Linked DNA regions of Homo sapiens: all the other regions are linked to region 3. The links are contacts of gene promoters, found by promoter capture Hi-C in blood cells and fetal thymus (Javierre and others, 2016). All regions are on one chromosome and are shown on one strand. Each heading gives the region's core, a stretch centred on a gene start or on the middle of the fragment in contact. The rest is flanking DNA. Distances are from core to core; before and after follow the strand shown. Region 1 holds the start of DSCAML1 (DS cell adhesion molecule like 1). Region 2 overlaps DSCAML1 (DS cell adhesion molecule like 1). Region 3 holds the start of TMPRSS4 (transmembrane serine protease 4).

What was found. Contacts are between HindIII fragments. The CHiCAGO score rates a contact against its expected background, and 5 or more counts as called.
Region 1: a contact is called between a fragment that was not itself captured here and the fragment with the promoter of TMPRSS4 in region 3, in 10 of 17 cell types (activated CD4 T cells, naive CD4 T cells, neutrophils and 7 more). The highest score is 7.8, in activated CD4 T cells.
Region 2: a fragment that was not itself captured here is called in contact with the fragment with the promoter of TMPRSS4 in region 3 in 6 of 17 cell types (activated CD4 T cells, endothelial precursors, naive CD4 T cells and 3 more); the score reaches 6.7 in activated CD4 T cells.

The regions. Positions count from the first base shown.
Region 1 is chr11:117,794,684-117,798,762 of GRCh38, reverse strand. DSCAML1 (DS cell adhesion molecule like 1) reads left to right here and starts at 1,547. Exons shown (of 33, transcript NM_020693.4): 1 at 1,547-1,729. The coding sequence starts at 1,684. The HindIII fragment of the contact is 5,146 bases long and covers 1-4,079 here.
Region 2 is chr11:117,776,330-117,780,377 of GRCh38, reverse strand. It overlaps DSCAML1 (DS cell adhesion molecule like 1), which reads left to right. Exons shown (of 33, transcript NM_020693.4): 3 at 3,441-3,587. Among named protein-coding and RNA genes, the nearest start is that of DSCAML1, 19 kb to the left of the region's middle. The HindIII fragment of the contact is 3,137 bases long and covers 596-3,732 here.
Region 3 is chr11:118,075,468-118,079,421 of GRCh38, reverse strand. It overlaps TMPRSS4 (transmembrane serine protease 4), which reads right to left and starts at 2,344. Exons shown (of 13, transcript NM_019894.4): 1 at 2,117-2,344. The coding sequence starts at 2,119. All of the region lies in intron 1 of SMIM35 (small integral membrane protein 35), which reads left to right. RefSeq lists an enhancer at 1,894-2,489. The HindIII fragment of the contact is 4,332 bases long and covers 882-3,954 here.

The DNA.
Region 1 (4,079 bases), core at 458-2,957, 280 kb after region 3:
ACGAACCTTGAAAACATTATGCTGAGTGAAGTAAGCCAAGCACAAAAGGATACATACTTTATGATCTCACTTATGAGGTACCTAGAATAAGCAACTTCATAGAGACAAAGTAGAATAGTGGTTGCCAGGAGCTGGGGGAGGGGAGGGGAAGGGGGAGTTATTATTTAATGGGTGCAGGATTCTGTTTGGGATGATGAAAAAGTTTTGGAAATGGTAAGTGATGATGGTTGCACATCGTGAATGTATTTAATGCCACAGAATAGTACACTTCAAATGGTTGAAATGGTAAATTTTATGTTATGTACATTTTAACATATTAAAAAACACACTTTTCAAAATTTAGTTAAAATTTCTAGGGATATTTTGGCAAAACCTGGGAGTGAGGAGTCCCAATTCTCCCATGTGAACTTAGGCCGCACATTTCGAGGAAGTAAATTTTCTTCCTCTGGCAAATGCAGCTAGCCAGTGGACCCCTTCTCTCCCTCCAAACTTCGCACTCCACACCTTAGAGTCTGCCCAGGTACAGCCCAATTGTCAGGGCATACTCAAAGCAGCTTCCATGACCCTGCAAAGGGAGCTACAGTCCTGGCTCATAGGCCATTCTCAGGGATACCTGGATCCCTTCTCTGGGTTCTATGTATCCTCTTATTTTGGAATTAAGACGAAAGGAGGGCTTTCCAACCATATTGACCTTTTACAGCAGACCTGGCTCAGCCATGCCTGAGTCCCCAGTGCCTGAGCCAGTGCCTGACACAGCAGGTGCTCAACATTCATTTGGTCACTGAGAAGACGCCCTCACTCCAGTCCTATTCTATGCCAACTTCATAAAGATGAGTGTAAGGAATAAGCCAATTTCTGTCAGGCAGGAAAGCTATAGGGGTGGGTAGGTGAAGACAAAGGAGGAAGATAACACAGGTAGCGTAGACATTAAACTGCTCATTGTGAATAACCGTTTAAATAGTCACAATGTGCCAAGTGCTGAGGAAAATTCGAACAGCGTGCCAGGGGGTGGCTGGACTCATCTGGGGTTCTCCGGAGGGCAGGCTTGCGGAAGTCACGAGGGGTTGGAAGGGCAGCTATGAACTTTGGGGTGGGGAGTAGCACCAGACAGCACTGAAAAGCCTGGGATTCTACCCAGAGCGTCCATGCTCCTCCTGGGGAGGGTGGGGGGGCCGGGTAAGCTGAGTCCGAAAGAGGCAGGAAGCTCGTGTCCCAGGTGACTTAGGCCAGTAGAAACCGGGCGTCCTTGGCTGAAGCATGGCAGGCTGTTGGCACATGGATGACACATGCCTGTCTGCGACCACAGGCTCCAAGCCGGTGGGTGACAGGGACCCCTCGCCTCTCAGACAGCGGAGCCGGGTCGGGGCGGTCTGGCCCGGGCCGCCGCTCCTGTTCCTGGGCTTGTGGGGCTGGGGTCCGTCTGGGCTCCGGGCTCGCGCGGCGCTCACCACCCGGGGTGCCGCGGGGGGGCGGGGAGAGCGGCCGCCTAGCCCAGCCCCGCGGATGACAGGAGCCGGGGAGCCGAGGAGGGAGGAGCCGCCGCCGCAGCCGAGCGCTGGGCTGAGGAGCAGAGAGAGCGGGGCGCCGAGTGCGGGCGGCTGGGAGCGCGCTGAGCGGGGGAGAGGCGCTGCCGCACGGCCGGCCACAGGACCACCTCCCCGGAGAATAGGGCCTCTTTATGGCATGTGGCTGGTAACTTTCCTCCTGCTCCTGGACTCTTTACACAAAGGTGAGACCTGCGCGGGCGGCTGGGCGGCGGAGGCGGCGGGGCCAGGGTGGCGCGGCTGGCGGCGAGGCGGGGTGCCCGGCGGGCTCCAGGTGCGTGGGGGAACCGACCGGGGTGCAAGGCCCCGGGTGGGGCGCAGCGGGGAGGGGCAGGCACCCTGACAGGGGCCGAGTGAGAGTCAGCCCCCGACCGCTCCGCCAGCCACCCGCGTCTGCCGTTTTGGGGCGCGCCCGTAGGGGTGGTGGCAAAGGAGCCCCTCATCTCCCTGCTCCCTGCACGGCGGCAGTTCTGCCCTGGACCCCTCCCCCAGCCCCTTGCCCTCTTCCTGCGGCTTGGTGGCACTGGGACCCCGGAGTGCCCTCCGAGTCGAGGGGTCCTCAGGCCGTGACTCTTGACCTAGGAGTCCTTGCTTATTCAGGCCTCGGACTCGGCGGCTGATTCCTCCGCTATGTCCGTGCGTCCCTCTCCCGCCGCGGACCCCAGCCCTGGCGCGAATGTTGGCGCACCGCATGGCGCTTATCCGCGCATTGGCTGGAGGCAGGGTGGGGATAGTGAGAGTCCCGAGAGCTGGAGGTCCCTCGGATAGCAAGTTTGTTCTCCAAACCCAGAGGTCACCCTCCCCCGGCCCTACCCCACCCCTCTGCCCCGGCTTTAGCCCCGGCTTGGTGCGCCACCGTGGCCACCTCGGGCAGCGCGCCCCAAGATGCGAGATTCTCCGCTTCCGCGCCTGGCCAGTTGGACCTGGGGACAAGTCTTCAGGCTGGGGGGCGTGTCCCTCTTCCCGGAGAGAGGGGGTTGCTAGGGGTGGGTCCAGGTGTCCGGCATGTCCAGACCTGCGGCTGGGGCGCTGCGTACCTGATCCGCGAGGCAGCCGGGATCGGGAGGTTGGAAGAGGGCAGACATTTCCGACTGAAGCCACCTGGGCACTGAGTCGGGACCAGGCAGGCGCAGGTAGTCTGGGTTCCAGGCTATCGCAGAGGACGTGCCCCCGGGCGCGCAGATGGCGGGAGATGAGGCGGCCGAACTCCGCGCCCTTGCGTGGTGGAGCACACACGCTCCAACAAGCTCAGCGTCACCTGTTCAGCCCTCTAACTTTTCTCCTTCTCGCCCCGGGGCGGCTTCTCTCTCCCTTTGCCCTGGCTGTTGCCCTGGCCGGGCGGCAACTCTTAACCCCAAGACGATGAGGAAGGGCACTCCAGTGGAGGGTTGCCACCCGGGGAGGGGTCCAACCCTGCCCTGCCGGTGCTCCAGGGGTCTGGAGTCTGCAGCCTGCCGGAGCCCACTGCGATACATCGTGGGTTGGGGGAAAGAGGATAACCCTTATTTGTAGATACTGCCGGGTCAAAGCCAGACTCAAGGCCCAGATACTGCTGGCATTTACTAGGCGATCGGATTGCGGGACAAGGAAGGGTGGCCTCAAAAATCGTCGACAAAGTAGTTGAGTTTCTCAGGCCCAGTGGGGTCCCCCGGGTTACACACCAAGGCTGGTCTCTGCTGTTTAACCCCTTGCCCCCCGCATCGCACTCCTTCATCCTACCTTAGCAGAGCAAGAAGCCTGCCTCCTGTTCAAGCCCCACCCCCGAACCCCAGTCTCCCTCTCCCCAGGTTCTTCCTGCCTCCCTCCGCCCCCGCAGGCTGGCTCGGCTCGCAGCTTTAATTACATTAATATTAAAAATACATAAGGTGAGGAGCGGCTTTCTCTCTCGATAGTTCTCTCTCCAACCCCCATCCCCTTTCGCAATTTGTCAGGCGAGAAAGCACAGGCCGAAGCCGCTGCCACACTCTAGCCCGGCTTTGTCCCCAACTCCCCCATGCCTCCACAACACTCTCTGGAGACATCTTCCAGGACAGCCCATTCCCGGGGAGTGCAGGAGGCCCCTCAGCAAATACCTGAAGGACACTCCCCTCCCCCTTCCAGGAGCCTGGCATTAATAAATGAAGCCGAGCTATTTGATAGGGCGGGAGCAGATGGGGTTGGGGGTGGAGAAAGGCCCAGAAGGCAACAGGACAGCCAAGGGGCAAAATCTTGTCCAACTCGAGATGGAAGTTGCCAGTGGCCTTGGACCTGTAGGCGGGCTGGAGATGCCAGTTGTGGCGGCTCCTCGGTGGCCTTTGGGTCTGCAGAGCCCGGTGCCCCTGCGATTCAGAGGCTCCAGCGTCTGTCTGTTGGGCGCCAGGGTGCCTCGCCAGACAGGCTTTTCTTTTCCTTGGTGCCTTAATTGGGTCTTAGGTGCCAGGCTGGTCCCTGGGGCCTGTTCTGCTTGGGGTGGCGTGGTAGGGGGTGGCAGAGGCGGCTTGGGGGAAGATGTGATGCGGAGACAGCAAGAAAGATGGGGTTTGGAGTATTTTCTCT
Region 2 (4,048 bases), core at 915-3,414, 300 kb after region 3:
TCTTTTGAATCTTTGTTGTACCACTTGCTGTGTGTCCATAGGCATAAGAGACACCTTTCTTTCTCCTTTCTCTCTTTCTTTCTTTCTTTCTTTCTTTCTTTCTTTCTTTCTTTCTTTCTTTCTTTCTTTCTTTCTTTCTTTCTTTCCTTTCTTTCTTTCTCTCTCTCTCTTTCTTTCTCTTTCTTTCTTTCTTTTTTTCTTTTTTTCTTTCTTTCTTTCTCTCTCTCTCTCTCTCTTTCTTTTTGCTTTTTGAGACAGAGCCTCACTCTGTCGCCCAGACTGGAGTGCAGTGGTGAGAAGACACCTTCCTAAGCCTCAGTTTTCCCATCTGCAAAGTGGATGCAAGTACCTACCTCTGTATCACTACGTGTGATGGTTAAATGAGTTGGTGCTCATTTAAATGAGGTGCTCACTTCAGCCCCCTTGACTTATAGAAAACCCGCAGTGAGGTTTCCTTGAAGCCTTTTATTGAAAAATAATATATAAAGGAAAGTGCACACATTACAAGTATGTAGCTTGATGAAATTTTACAAACTTCAACTAACACTGAGATTGAGAAATACAACATCAGCACCTTAGAAGCGTTCCTCAAGCTTCTTTTGTGACACTATTCCCCTAAGAGCCACCACTATTCTGATTTCTAACAATGTAGATATTTTGCTTATTTATGAACTTTATACAAATGGTGTCCAACGGTGTATATTGTCTAGACCTTTTGCTCACCATTCTGCTTATGGGATTTACCCCTGCTGCTGTGTGTGGTGGGAGGTTGGTTGTTCTCACTGCTGCCTAGTGTTCTATCATGCAACTAGACCACACTTTCTTTGTCCATTCTACTGCTGAGGGGATGTCTGAGGATGACATATCTCATGAGAAAAGGCAATTTGGTAAAATTCACGATGAAAGACTTTTAGCAGTGAAGGATTTTGGTCTTTGGAAGAGTAGGTGGAGGCAAGGAGGTAGGGTTTCTCAGGTGGTCTATTTTAAGAAAAAAGAAAGTCTTATTTCTCTGGATTATGTCGGGAGGCCAAGGGGACAGCTAAGATCAGCCATTCTTCACTAGGACACCAGGGTACACTGGTGTCTCACAATCAATGGTAAGGTGGGTCTCGGATCATTATAAAGCACTGACGTTTTGGGAATGGTTTTCAACTTAGAAGAGCTTTTCAACTTAAAGACCCAGCCCACTGCAATGGTGCCAGGCCTAGGTCACACCATCTTTTCCAGGGACTGTGTTGGGCCAACCAGGGAGAGTGGTTCTGGGAAAGGCCTCCCAACCAGCATGTGGTGACAGACCCTCTCTGACTTCTTGGGGTCCTTTTCCCTTAGGTACACCTCTCATAAGAGCAAGGTTTAAAGTAGCTGGGAACGGGAGTGTGTAGGGGTGAGGTGGGGTGAGAGCTGTCCTTCATTCCATTGGTTGGTTTGGGGCTAGACCATGAGCTCTTAGAACACAGAGATATGCTCAGGGTTTCTCCCTGGGCTCCCCATGGACTCTTTTTAGGAGCAAGTGCTTTGCACGGCTCAACCCCTAATGCAGCACCAAGTGCTGGGCTGGGAGCCCTGAGGCCTGGGTTTGGAGCCCAGCTCTGGCCTCCACAGCGTGGAGGATTGGGCTAAGGGGAAGGGACCATGTTTCCTGTCACCTCCCCCTCATTGGGTTAGGATGCAGTTTTCACAGTAAGTCTATACATGTGTTTTCACAAATGAAGAGATTAAAACAAAGAGAGTTAAGTCACTTGCCCAAGGGCACATAGCCAGTTAATCGCAGAGGTGCAGCTATCATGAAAAGTGACATTGCCAAAGTGCTTTCCTTGGGCTGGGCCTTTTATACGCTGCTCTTATGGTGATTTCCTTTCATAAATGAAGAAACTGGGGCTCCAGAAGGTTAACCAACCCTTGTCCAGGATCACACAGTGGGCCAGTGGAGGAGGCAGGGCCCGCTTGTTAGATGCCGTTAGCCATTAACCTCTGCTGACTCCCTGGGACATCACAGGTGGCGTGCACCCCAGCCCGCTCTTTCCACTCCACCACCTTGCCTCCCTCCAGGGTCCATTCCCCTTGTTCTCCTCTGTGCTCTCCCATATCTGGAGGCAGGGCTCTGCCCAAACCTTTGGAAGGGCTGGACCACAGATCCACAGAGCCACCAGTGCCTCTCCTCTCTTCTCTTTCTTCCACCTCAACCACATCTTCTCCTCATCACAGCCACAGCTTGGAGAAGGGGAAAGAATAAAGGCCGAGGGAGGGCCGGGAAGAGCCAGGCTGACTGGAAACACAGTCAATTAAGAGACTCTTGATGATGCCAGAGGGGCTGCAGGTGCACAGTCAGGGGGTGGGGATGGGCTGCCAGGGCCCTAAGTGTCACCCTGGCAACCATGGCAGGGAGAGGAGGAGGGCACGCTGCCCAGGTGCCTGCTGAGGGACAAGGTCGGGAGGCAGCAGGGCTCTGGATGTTCCAGCTTTGCTTGGCAGATAAGGGGGTGGAAGGATCAAGCGAGGCCTGGGAGAGGCCAAACAGAGGAGGACAAGGCAGAGGCAGAAGCCTTGGTCCCATTCCTAGGGCTGGGTCTGCCTGCCTGTAGGGCCAGACACATACAGCGGCTGCAGTTGGCAATGCCCTAGAAGCCAGCTGAGGCAGGAGGTGGGCACGGTGGGGGAAGGGATGGTTCTGAAAGCAGGGGCAAGTCTGGGGGTCAGGGAGGGGTGCTGTAGAGGCTGCAGCCAGGGTCAGAAGCAGGAAGAAAGCAGCAAGAATGCTCTGTTTTGGAGAATCTTGGAGACTGTGTCCATGTCTCTAGGATTCTGTGTGCTCAGAGACAATCGTAGTCCCAAACATTCTCTCCCTTTGTCCTTGTAAGCTCAGGATCTGAACTACATTTCCCAGGCTGCCTTTCATGTTGAAGGAGCCCAAAACTCAATTGTTAGAGCATGTGTCACAGGTTTTGTTTGGGTGCATTATGGTCACTGTGTCCAAAATAATTGCCACCCTGGGTCCAGCAATAATGCAGGAAATCCGGTTTGGTTTTCTTAGGGGAATTCTAGCATATTTCCTTATTACCTGCACATCCCCTTGGTGAATATAACATTGCAGGGCTTAGTGCTGCCCTCAAGGCTTTTACAATCTAATATGACTTGCTAATACCGAAATGGGAAAGGTAGGAATTTGGATGGATGGTCTTGCAGAGGGAGGCCAGATATTTTTGAGGGAGAAAAGGCTGCCCAGTAGGATGGGGAGGAGGTTGATGGAGAAGGAGTTGCCCAGACAAGAACAAGATCATGGCAGGGGCTTCTAGGCTGGCTAAGCAGGATGGGGGAAGGAAGAAGTGGGAAGGTGAGGCTGAAGGAGCAGAGGGAGTTGAGCTGACTCCCTGTTCCTTTCTGGGGACCCTCACCACATCCTTGTGACACTCTTCTCTTCCCCACTGCCAATCTCTCTGCAGTTTTCAGGGAACCCTACACCGTCCGGGTGGAGGATCAAAGGTCAATGCGTGGCAACGTGGCCGTCTTCAAGTGCCTCATCCCCTCTTCAGTGCAGGAATATGTTAGCGTTGTATCTTGGGAGAAAGACACAGTCTCCATCATCCCAGGTAAGAAGCGTCCCGGGGCTGCGGCAGACAGAGGTGCTCCCTCTGTGGGGACTGGATAAAGTAGAGATGCCTGAGCTGGTTGTTGAGCTCAATAAGATCTTGAGGTTGGCTCTGGGGAGTGACTTGTTATTGTTCTGGTGAAGCTTTGGCCAAAAAAAAAAAGTCTTTGGTCTTGGTCTGGCACGTCTCTCTGTGGGGTGTTGAAGACTCACACACTGGTGGTCTTGACTGGGTCTGTGAGGGTCCCATCAGACACCAAGTGCAGTGGAAGCCCCATCCTTTCTGACTGCTGGGGCTTTGCTTGACCCAGCCCTGAGGGACGGGAGGCAAGGCTGGAAGCACCTTACCTGCGAAAGGTGGCAAGGGGAGGAGGAATGAGAGGCGGGTTTGTGGTCTGTGTTCCTGCGTCGTGTGACTAAAACAGTGAGCACTGCCTCCTTGGAGGACCTGACTTCAGGAAG
Region 3 (3,954 bases), core at 1,095-3,594:
GAATACCCAGCTTAATGGGTTCTTGGGAGAGCTGTCATTAAGACGCAGCAGCTCAAAGGACCCTGACTGTCACAGAAAGGGGCCTGTGGGGATGGAAGGAGGTAGGGAATGGAAGGGAAGGGAAGGGAGGGCTGAGCCTGGGTGTGGAGATCCCATCCTCCCCTCAGGGCTGGGAGCTATGGCTGTCAAGGGTTATTAAGCACAGGCTTAATGACAGGGTTATTCAGCACAGGCAGTATAATGGCTAGCTCCGGGGCTAGAAACTTCCTTGACCACACCGTGGAGATTGGCCATGCTGCTGCCTTGCCTTTGGGGCCCCAGGCCTGACCTGACCCCTCCACCAGTGTTCCCACCTGCCCTCCCCCGCTCCTCCAGCAATGCCCAGCTCCTTCCCTGGTGGCAAAGGGTCTGTGTTGGGTGTACTACCCAGCTGTCATTTCCTAGCACAGACTCCTCTTTAGTCCTAAGTCCTTACATCTGTGCGGGGCTTCATGGTTTCCAGAACCTACTCACATGTATTAGCTGTGTAATCTCTGCGAACCCGGTGCATGTGCGTGGGGCTGTTGTGGGTCATATCGTTTCCGTGGGCAGGGGAGAAGGTGAGTCTCGGGAAGATGAATGCCTCAAGACAGCACAGCTAATCAGGGAGCTGGCCTCAGCCTTCTGATTCTGCAGTTAGTGACCTGCCCTAGAAATGATTCCCTTCTCTGTTGCTCCCCCAAGAGACACCCCAGGTCTCCTCAGTGCCTGCCACCCAGAAGCAGCTCACAGCTAGGTAGACTCCACAGCTGCTCTCCTCTCCTGGGAGCCCCAGGGGATACAGCGTCTCTGCACACAGGCCAAACTTTGGGGCGCCTCCTTGGATGGGAAAGCAGGAAGCTTGTGCTTTGATCCTGGCTCAAAGGGAAGCCCCTTCCCCTTTCTGATCATCAGCTACAACCGCACTAAGAATTGTTCTTGCCAGAATTTTCAGAAGAGTGTCGTGGGAAGTGCTCAGGTTGGGAATAGGAGACAATCACTCGAGGGGCCCCTGCAGGTCACACCCTTCCCCCTTGGACAGTGGCTTCTCCTTTCCTCTCTTCCCTTCCCTTTCACTTTGGTGGCTGGGCAATTGCTGCCTCTTGGCCAAGGACTGGAGAAGGAAGACCCCTGGGTTCCTCCTCAGACCCAGTTATTATCTCTTCCCCTCCCTGGCCCTCAGCTGTCCTCCTTGAAAGATAGGGTTGATTCTCTTTGCCCCAAGACAGCGAAGACGCTCCAGGTATTCAGAGGAGGAGGAGAGAGGGTGAGGGCATGAAAAGAGACCAAGTAAAAGATGACCACAAACACCCTAGATTGTTTGGAGGCATCTCTGCACTGTTTTCTTTTCCTTCTTTCTTTTTTTTTTTTTTTTTTTTTTTTTTTTTTTGAGACGGAGTTTCACTCTTGTTGCCCAGGTTGGAGTGCAATGGCACAATCTTGGCTCACCACAACCTCCGCCTCCCAAGTTCAAGCGATTCTCCTGCCTCAGCCTCCCAAGTAGCTGGGATTACAGGCACCTGCCACCACGCCTGGCTAATTTTTTGTATTTTTAGTACGGATGGGGTTTCACCATACTGGCCAGGCTGGTCTCAAACTCCTGACCTCGAGAGATCTGTCTGCCTCAGCCTCGCAAAGTGCTGGGACTACAGGCGTGAGCCACTGCACCCAGTCTACACTTTTCTTTAAAAAGAAAAGGAATCAGTTTCCCCAGGGAGTGGCAGAGGGCAACCGTGGCATCAGAACAGCCCCCTGCCTTGGAAAAATAGTGCCAACCTCTAACCAACAGACCTGGAGACATTGGGCAAAAGAACATGCAGGATTCAGGAAAGAATAGTCGGGAAGGACAGCCCTGGCTCTGTGCTCAGCTTCTTAGGTGAGCTGGTCCAAGGACCATGGCAATGGAGGAAGAGAGGAAGGCAGGTGGGTATGAGACGTGTACCGGGCTGGGGTGTGAGGGGATTTGGGTGTGGCCTCTTTTTTTAACCTAGAAGGTGTCACAGAATTCTCAGCTGATGGATGCTCAGGCTGCTTGAAGGGCCTTACATGGGGAGACCCACCCTTCCTGTGTCTTGGGAGCAGAGGGCCCCACACTCACCATGCTGGCTCTGTGATCCTCCCGGTCTCCCTGTAGCCTGGAGCTGAGATTGTCACCCCAAGGCAGCAGGAGGGCCTCCCCACACAGGTCCTGGCTGGCCAGCAGGTCAGAAGTCCCTGGTCAGCACTGGCTGGAGGAGGCCCGAGTGCAGGGCAGGCCTTGGTCCCTCACGCCCAGCATCCTTGTCCGCTGAGCAAGCTGCTGCCTCTCTCTGTGTATTCCAGGAGTGATTGGGGGACTTTGGGCAGCTTGATTAAAACAGCCCTACAAGTGAAGTTGCCAAACTGGAATGATTATGTGTCTTGTAACCTGACACCTATCTTAGGGGCTGGAACAACACCTGAAGTCATTCATGGGACCTTCGGCCTCAGAACAGGTGACACACCTAAGGCGTAACAAAAGCCTTCCCGCCTGAATGACTTCCACCCAACTGGGTGTTGGCTGAGGGTGATGCCAGAAGTTTCCGCCCCCCCTCCCCCTACCTTCTAGGTGCATGACTTCTCACTGTGTGGGTGCTTTGGTTTGGGGTTGTGGGAAGTTGGAGTGGTCTGGGGGTTGGGCGACAGGGTTTGCAGCTCAGTACAAAGAGATCATTGCCAGGTGTGGAGCAATAGGATTGGAAAGTCCACAGAGAAGGAGGGAGTTTCTTCTCTTAGGGAGGTAAGATGTACCCCCTTTCCCTGGATCCCAGAAGTGAAGCTGTCCTGCACAGAGCCAATGTACTAGTGCTTCCTGCCCCTGCCTCAGCAGCCGTTCAATATTCTGAAAATCACTATTGGTGCTCTGGCTAGAGCCCACGTCTCCTCGTCCACGGAGTCATTTCCTTCTTTCTTTCTTTCTTTTTTTCTTTTCTTTTTTTAAGACAGGGTCTCTCTCTGTCCCCCAGGCTGGAGTGCAGGGGCGCAATCTCAGCTCACTGCAACCTCCGCCTCCTAGGTTCAAGCAATTCTCGTGCTCCAGCCTCTCGAGTAGCTGGGACTACAGCCACCTGCCACCACACCCAGCTAAGTTTTGTGTTTTTGTATTTTATTTTATTTTGAGACAGAGTCTCTGTTGCCCAGGCTGGAGTGCAGTGGCGCGATCTTGGCTCACTGCAACCTCCACCTCCCAGGTTCAAGTGATTCTCCTGCCTCAGCCTCCCAAGTAGCTGCTGGGATTACAGGTGTTGTGCGCCACCATGCCTGGCTAATTTGTATTTTTAGTAGAGATGGGGTTTTGCCATGTTGGCCAGGCTGGTCTCAAACACCTGGCTTCAACTGATCCACCTGCCTCAGCCTCCCAAAGTGCTGTGATTATGGCGTGAGCCACCGCACCCAGCCCCACAGGATCATTTCTGATTCACGTTCTGCCACATCCTGATAGCTGGAGCTGCCCCCTGGCCAGGGGATGTGCAAGGTGAAACCTTACAGCCACAGATATTTTGCTGGGAGAGACTTGGATAATTGTCCACATTGTTCCCCCATTCTGTGGGCGACAAAACTAAATTCCAGAGAGGCAAAGTCAATGACCCAAAGTCACATAATGAATTAGTGTCTGGTTCCATATGAATCCAGATCTCCTTCCATTTCTCAGACCTGACCCTCCCAGGAGACCAGCCTGGGTTAGACGTGTGTATTTGTCCTTCTGTTGATAACGTGCTTCTGTGTATCAGCCCTTTAATTCTCCAACAACAACCCCAATATTTTGTTCCCATTTGTCAGCTGAGGAAACTATAGCCTATGGACATGAAGTAGTTTCGGGCAGAGTTGGGGCTGGAACCTGGTTCTCTTACTGGTTCACACTGCCAGGCTTGTGAACAGGCTGAATGGAACACAAGTGTTTGAAAGCCCCAGGTTCAT